Regions from separate parts of the Homo sapiens genome. Here region 1 is linked to region 2. The links are contacts of gene promoters, found by promoter capture Hi-C in human tissues and cell types (Jung and others, 2019). All regions are on one chromosome and are shown on one strand. The core of a region is centred on a gene start or on the middle of the fragment in contact, and the rest is flanking DNA. Distances in the headings are between cores, read along the strand shown. Region 1 overlaps RNPEPL1 (arginyl aminopeptidase like 1). Region 2 holds the start of KIF1A (kinesin family member 1A).

Evidence for each region. Contacts are between HindIII fragments. The study calls those that stand out against the background at their distance.
Region 1: a fragment that was not itself captured here is called in contact with the fragment with the promoter of KIF1A in region 2 in 1 of the 25 tissues and cell types used here (dorsolateral prefrontal cortex).

What each region holds. Positions count from the first base shown.
Region 1 is chr2:240,579,460-240,583,355 of GRCh38, forward strand. RNPEPL1 (arginyl aminopeptidase like 1) reads left to right here. Exons shown (of 11, transcript NM_018226.6): 11 at 1-1,913. CAPN10-DT (CAPN10 divergent transcript) reads right to left here. Exons shown (of 1, transcript NR_103792.1): 1 at 3,291-3,896. Among named protein-coding and RNA genes, the nearest start is that of CAPN10-DT, 4.9 kb to the right of the region's middle. RefSeq lists enhancers at 1-47, 545-664. The HindIII fragment of the contact is 8,850 bases long and covers 1-3,896 here.
Region 2 is chr2:240,818,948-240,822,852 of GRCh38, forward strand. It overlaps KIF1A (kinesin family member 1A), which reads right to left and starts at 1,272. Exons shown (of 49, transcript NM_001244008.2): 1 at 1,175-1,272. RefSeq lists an enhancer at 1,684-2,258. The HindIII fragment of the contact is 12,815 bases long and covers 1-3,905 here.

The DNA.
Region 1 (3,896 bases), core at 1,247-3,746, 240 kb before region 2:
CATCAGGTCTGGGGGAGGCGCCACCCCATCCAGAGACCTAGGAACTAGAAGACTGCCACTGCCCCTCACACCCAGGGATAGGATGACTGCAGTAACCCCTGTGAAAGCGGGTATGGAGGGCACCTGGCAGCCCCTGCTGCATGGCCATCTAAAGTCTTGCCAGGCAGGCACAGCTAGGGCCCCTGCCTGGGAGTGGACACCCCACTCCCCCAAGTCATGTTCTCTGTGGCCTGGGGCTCCAGCCTTGGGAGGACCCCTTTCCTGTTTCTTAACCATGCTTGATGGTGTCCTCAAAGGAGCCCTGCTCAGTGGCAGAACTGCTTTCTCAGCCTCTTCCCCGCCAAGGTTGTTTTCAAGTCCCAGCAGTCACAGACTTTCATCCTGGGCTCTTCTTTCTTTTGCAATTCAGCTCTCGAAATGACTCTGTGGTCTGCGGGTGACTCCACTCCACGTGCCTACAGCCACGCCCACAGCGCCACCTCCGGACGCTGCTGAGCTGCGCACCTGTGCCTGACACCTGGCTTTGGGAAACTCAGCAGCAGTGCCCAGCGTCATGACCCTGGGGGCAGGAGGGCATCTGGATCCAGGATGGCACCCTCACCACAATCTGTCTTGGCTCTGTGCCCGCCCGTGGGGTACACAGGAGGGCTCTTTCAGCCCTAAGTCCTTGTGTTCCTGACCTTTGTTCCTCTTCCACCCAGCTTGCAAGTGCAGAATTTTTTTTTAGCTCGTCGCTTCCCTGCAGTCCCTTGTCCAATGCAGCCTCCGGCCGATACTCAGGCCAGTGTTGTTTCCCAACCTCTCCACTAGATACGCACACTTAGCTCACGGTCTGCCTCATGAGTCATCCCAGTTGAGCTTTACCAAATGTTTTGCCCCACCTAACAGCCTGCCCACATTCCAAATCCTGGCAGGTCGCACGTTTTATTAGCACAGCACCCCTCTCCTAGCGGCCAGCTTCTCTATTAGGCCACGTTATGCTCCAGCCACACAACTATGAAGCGCAGACGTCTCACACAACAAAGCTTTCTCATGCTGCAGGCCCACCTCAGGCTGGCAGGGGAAGGGGGGATTCTCTTCAATGTGACCACTCTCGGACCCGTACCGATGAACAGAGATCTCAAATGTTTCCAGGCACCTTGCCAGGGATAAGAGAGCTGTTGAGGGGCTCACACTGGCAGTGGAAGTTCTAAGGGGCCTACAACCACAGGGGCTGCAACCCCACCATATGCACAAAAGCGGGGGCAGATGGCAAACAGCACTAATGACAACGACGGAGCTGAGGCCAGAATGTGAGAGAGATCTGCATTTTGGGGATTAGGGCCTAGTCAGGCAGGTAGGAGATGATGTTCAAAAAGGGAAAAGAAGCGTGATGAAAGACTGGTTTCTACAGAGATAGATTAGAAAGCTGAAGCCTGAAAAAACAGTGAAGGAGACCCATGCAAATTTCTAGGCCCTGGAGGTCCAAATAAGGTTTTCTAAGTCCCTCAGGCCATGACAGGTTCAGTCCAGACTTGTCTCCCAGAGTGTTTCTCTGCCATCCCTACTCTAACTGGGACTTATTGGTGGTGTTTCTCTCCTAAGGCCAGATGCTTTGCACAGAACATTAGGAAACTCCAGATGTAAAGGTAAGGCACAACTGAGAATCACCTGCCCAGGGCAGCAACACAGTGTGAAGGAAAACAGGCCACTCAACCCAAACTTACACCTGAGACAGAGGCAACAGAAAAATCAGAAAAGGACTTTAGAACACATATAATCAAAATCTCAGACCTAAAGACGACTTTTGAAATAAACCATAACATATGAAGAGGCACTTATGAAACAAGAACAGGTAGTTTATAAAAAAGAACCAGTCAGAGACCCTGGAAATTTTTTAAAAAGCAATTACTAAAATAAAAAATGAAAACTCAGTCAACAGTGCTCTGGTTTGGATGTTCCCTCCAAAATTCATGTTGAAATTTAATTGCCATTGTGATGGTATTAAGAGGTGGAACCATTAAGAAGCGATTAGGCCATGAGGGTTCTGCCTTGATGAATGCATTAATGTCATTATCAGAGTGGGTTCGTTATCATGAGCATGTGTTGTAAAAATGAATTTAGCTGTCTCTTGCTGTGTGTCCTCTTGCTCTTCCATCTTCCCCCATGGAATGGTGTGGCAAGAAGGCCTTTACCAGATGCCAGCCCCTCGCCCTTGGACTTCCCAGCCTCCAGAACTATAAGAAATACATTTATTTTCATTATAAATTACCCAGTCCGTGGTATTGTTATAGGAACAGAAAATGCACTTGGGGATATTAGGTCGTGGAGAGTAAAAAAAAAAAAAAAATAAGTTCCAGTCAATCAAGGCATCCTCATTCTCAACATTGCCTGCATTCTACCCTCCAGGGGTCCCCTCCATGGCCCTTCATCTGCCCCCACCCCGCAACTCAGCCTCATTTCTTCAGCCATTTTCTCCCCCACATCTCTCTTCCCTTCCCATCAGACCTTCACATCCTGCAAGCTAAGCCACCTCAACTAGCCATGCCCTCAGGGCTCTTACTCAAGCACCCACCAAGATGTTTTTCCTAACAAAGACTGTCCTTTTACTAAGAGGAATCTGATGTCAGCTGTTAGTCTCCGCTCCCCCCCACCCCCCATCTCTCGGAATAATCACCTGGTCAGAGAGAAGCCCAAGAGCACGGACATGCCAGCTAAAGGTGGAGCTTGGCAAGGGTGTCCACAGAGTGGCCAGGCCCAGCACAGATCCGAGGGGCTTTTAACAGGCACAGGCAGAGTGCTAAGGAGATCACTACCACCCACCCACCCATCCAGCCAGGCCCAGATAAACCTCTCCTTGTTCCAAATGAATGAGCAAACAGAAAAATTCCAGTGTGGAGGGAATACAACACCCACAATGCAGAAAATAGCCCACATCCAAAATATGCTCCCCTCAGATAACTAGTCAACTGTGCAAACTATCTGCATAATCCTCACAATAAAGTTGAAGAACACAAAACCACTTCATACAAAGAGTTAGGAAAAAAATTCCTATAAGGAGGAGCATGTACCATATTTATTCCCACTCTGTTTACTAAGCATGTATTATAATGAGAAAAAAAGCTCAATCTAAAATATTGCCAACAAAGAATCCATTCCTCACGTTGCAGTAAATGAAGCGGGCTGAGGTCAGCCTCCTTTTATGCTGGCTGCCCCAACTCTAAGGAGTTGATGCGTCCTACTGTTAACAGCGGAGGATGTCCAGGTTCTTGGCGTCTTAAATAAAGAATTGGACAAAACACACACAGAGAGCAAAGAAGGAATGAAGGGATTTATTGAAAATGAAAGTACACTCCACAGTGTGGGGGTGAGCCTGAGCATAGGAGCACAAAAGCCCTGTTACAGAACTTCAGAGAGTTTAAATACCCTCTAGGTGATTCCATTGGTTACTTGGGGCACACGTTATGTAGATGGAGAGCCTGTTACAGAACTTCTGAGAGTTTAAACACCCTCTAGGTGATTCCATTGGTTACTTGGGGCACACGTTATGCAGATGGAGAGGATGAAGTTACAAAGTCATTTGCTTGGCCTATGTCCTATGGAGAAGGTATTTCCTATCATAACTGAAGTGTGAATCAGCCTATGTTCCCTGCACTCAGACCCTATTTTCCTGCCTCCTACCTACAGCTGTGTGGTCCTGAGCTGTCACCTCTTCCCTTTGAAGCTCAGGTTCCTCATCGGTAAAATGAGGCAGAAATACTCACTGCTGAGATGTGTGGGGATCGCACAAACTCAGTGTCTCAACATGTTGTACGTGTGTTTTGGCCCTCTGAGCCCTTGAGGGCTGCCCCAGGTGGAACCCTCTTCACTTTTCTTGGAGAACTGACCATGGGTTGCAGCAAAGCCTAAAATGGTTC
Region 2 (3,905 bases), core at 22-2,521:
TCTGGGGGAAAGTCCCTATTCCCGGGGACGTGGGCGCGCATCGGGTCCGCGCCGGGCGACGTCGCGCTCGCGCCCAGCAGGCCCCATGACTTGGCATTCCCTCCTTCCCCTCCCCCTCCCGCCCCTGCGGCCGGCAGGGCCCCCCCAACCCCACCTACCGGCGCCCAGCGCCCCGCTCCTGCGGACCCTCCCTCCCGGCGGGGATGCTGCCCCGGCCCTTCCCAGCGAGAGGGCAGCGCGGCTGGTTTGGGGGAAGTCAGCGTGAGGAGCGGCTTAAAGCGGGAGTGCGAAGGTCTTCGCGGCCACTGTTCCTTCGTGTCATCCGAGCCCGGGCGCCGGGGGCGCGCCGCCAGCCTAGACCCTGCGGCCCCGCAGCCCCTCCCTCGCCGCCGGGCCACACCTGTTACAGGGGCGCTGGCTGCTGAGACGCAGGCAGTGCTCGCCGGCGGCCCCTCCCAGGTGCTGGGTCTTTCTGGAAGGGAGCTGGGGTCTCTGGCGTGGGAGGGGGTGATGGGCAGGCCGGCCGTGCAACGAAGCGGGTGGCCAGGCCCCAACGCCGCAGCCCCCGCCCCGCCCGCCTGTTTTGCTCCCGGCTCCAGCATCCGCCCTCCCCCACCCCGGGAACCGGAGCAGCTGCCCGCGCCCGGCCGCCCTGCGCGCTCTCCCCTCGGGCCGAGGCGCTGCAGCCGCGCACCCTCCCAGGTGCGGCGTCAGCGTCCTCAGCCCCGCTCACCATCCCTCCCCTCCCCCGCCGTCTGGGCGCAGCCCCTCCCGCAGCCCCGCCGGTGGCTCCTCTCCAGGGAAGCGGAATAGCCGGGGAAGGGCGGGGGTATCCCGATCCCGCCGGCCGGGCGAGCCCTCCCGAGGGCGACCCCCGCCCGCCTAAGCCGAGGGTCCCGCTGCAGCCGAGATCGCGGCAAAGGGACCTTTTCCAGCGGCACCTGAAGGGCGGACACCCCTGAATTTCCCCCATTGTTCTCTGCGGAGATGGAGGAAGGTCTGGAAGTGAAGGGGCCTCGCAGTGCCTGCGCTTTGGGCGGCAACAAGGGCGCCGGGCCGGAGCTCCCCGCCCTGGGCGCAGTGGGTGCAGGTGCGGGCTGCGGGCGCGGGCTGCCGGGCGCAGGTGCGGGGCGAGGGGCGCGGGCGCGGGAGGCCGGGCGGGCGGCGGCCTTACCTCTCCGGCGTCACTGGCGGCGGCCCCGCATGGGCACTGGCATGGGCGCGGGCTCTCGAGCCCGGAGCTGCTGCCGCTCGCCGGCTGCTCTGCGCTGTGACGGCGCCGCCGCGTGACGGGCTGCGCGCCCCCGGCCCGGACCGCCCCGCGCCCCTCCCGAGGCGCTGGTTGGCTGCGCGCGGCGTCCGAGCTCCAGTCGCCAGCTGGTTTGTCGCGCGGGGAGAGGGACGGGCGACGCGGCCGCCGCGGGGATGGGGCTGGGGACGGAGGGGGCCGGGGCCGGGCTGTGACGTCACCGCTGACACCGCGGCGGGCCCCGCGGAGGGTGGGGGACCGACACCCGGCTCGGACGCAGCGTCCCCTCCCCCGGCGTGCCCCTGAGACCTCGCGGGGGAGGGACCCGGCGGCGCCCCGTCCCGAAGCCCCGCGTGCACCTGAACTTGCCCGCGGACCCCTCGCCGGGCCGTCCCCCACCCTGGCCCCTTTCGAGTGAAATCGTAAAACGTCCACCTGCCCCCGCTCTGAGCCAGCGACAGACGCATCGTGGGGGGCGGGCGGGGCTGGGGAGGGAGGGCTCCTTGCGCCAGGGATGCTGGCTCCGGGTGTAACAGGTGCGCGGTGAAATCGCATCTTGTGTCGGGGCCGGGGCGCCGGGGGAAGAGCAGCAGTGACCCAGGCCCTCCCCGCCGGATGATGCAACCCGCCCGCGGACCCGCCGCCTCGCCTCTACCGCGGCTCGTGGGGACCCCCCGCCCTCCTCTCGCCCCACCTCTCCAGGCCCCCATTGTCCTCACCCCAGCCTGTCCAGTTTAACTTCCTTGGACCCCCAAGTCACACGCCGCTCGGGGGCCACCCCGGCAAACCCCAGCCTGCGTCACCCGCCCCCAGCCGCCTTCCTAGTTCCAGGGGCTGACTGGTATCTCTGTGCGCGCCACCGTCCTCCCTCCACCGTCCCAGGGCTGGGCAACTTCGACAAAGCCTCTGGGCAGCTCGCCCATGGGAACCTCCCCGCACTGCGGTGCGGGGGTGCACGGATTTCGGGCCACCCTGAACCCCGGGGCTGGGTCCCCTCCAGCCCAGCCCCTGCCATCGAGCCCCTGCCATGGGCATCCTGGCGTCGCCTGGCTAAGCCTCCCTGGCGCCCAGCAGGGGCCTGCGCTGCCCTAGCGGCCTCGCCGTTAACCATTTCATCCACACTCCTGGGAGAGCCGGCTTCACCTCAGTCCCGACAGCTGCGTGCGAGCGCCTTGCAGGTGGCTGGGGGAGATTCACATCCACTTCTGCAAGACACGGGCCCCCCACTCCCAGCCCCAGCCCCGCCGAAACCAGCTAGACAGCTCCTCCTCCTTCACTATTTCCTGGAACCGCCGGCATGAAAGAGAAATCAATTGTTCTTCCTAACCCTGGCAGAAACAATAAAACCATCTGGGCTTCTGGGGCTGGGGTCTTTATCACCTCCGTTTTCCTCATGCTTTTTAATCTGGCAAGTTCTCTATTTCTCGAGGCAATAGACATTTTTCTAGGAATTAATCTATTTCACGTTAATATTTAAATGACTAGCATATCTTTTTTTCTTTATATTCTGGCTTTTTATGGTTTTGTTTGTTTGTTTTGACAGGGTCTTGCTCTGTCTCCCAGGTTGGAGTACAGTGGTGCCATCTTGGCTCACTGCAGCCTCAGCCTCCCCAGCTCAAGCAATCCTCCCACCTCAGCCTCCCTAGTAGCTGGAACTACAAGTGTGTGCCACCACGCCCAGCTAATTTTAGCATTTTTTGTAGAGACAGGATTTTGCCCTGTTGCACAGGCTGGTCTCAAACTCCTGAGGTCAAGCCATCCACCCACCTCGGCATCCCAAAGTGCTGGGATTACTGGCATGCATTTGGCCTGTATTTTGTTTTTTGCATTTTTCTCTTTTAATATTTTTAAATATTTTCAGAGCTCCAACTTTTAGTTCTGTTAAACGTCTTTCCCGTTATTTCATTTGCTTCTGTCTTTCTGTATTATTTCCTTCCTTTGTGGTTCTTTGGATTTGATCTGTTCCTCTGTCTTGAACCAAATGCTTAGCTCCTTTTTAAGCCTTCTGATTTTCCAATAGATCTACTGTATTAAAAGCTACAAAATTCCTTCTACAGAACTGTCTTGGCTGAGTCTCACAAATTTGGACATAAAATGTTTTCATTATCATTCATATCTAATATTTTCTACTGTTCCTGATGATCTCCTTTTAAACCCAGGGTTATTTAATAATGTTATTTACTTTTCAATAGTGTTTCTTTAATTATAACCTTTTGTTACCAGGTTCTAATTTAATTGCATTGTTGTCAGAGAACAAGTCTGTATTCAGTCAAGATCCTGGCAGGAAGCAGATGGCACACTCAAATTGGGTAATTTGAGAAGGGTTTGATAAAGAGACTATTGATAAAGGTGTGGGCAGGAGGTCGGAGAGCCCCAGGGGCTTGGTGGCACTGCAGCCTTACTGCCTGCAGGGAGCGGGGCGGGCAGAAGCAGAGGCTCAGGTGGAGGGGTGCAGCCAGCCAGAGTTTCCTAGGAAGGGAGCCAGGGCAGCAAACCCTGGACCTCACTCTCCCTCTTCCCCTGATCTGGTAGTGCTTTGGCTGAACCCAAGGGGAAGCTGGAGGTCAGGGGCACCCAAGGAGTATGGTGCATTTCGGGTGGTCTCCTGAAGAATGGGCAAAGGGAACTTAGAAGCACAAACAGAAACTAGCTGCCC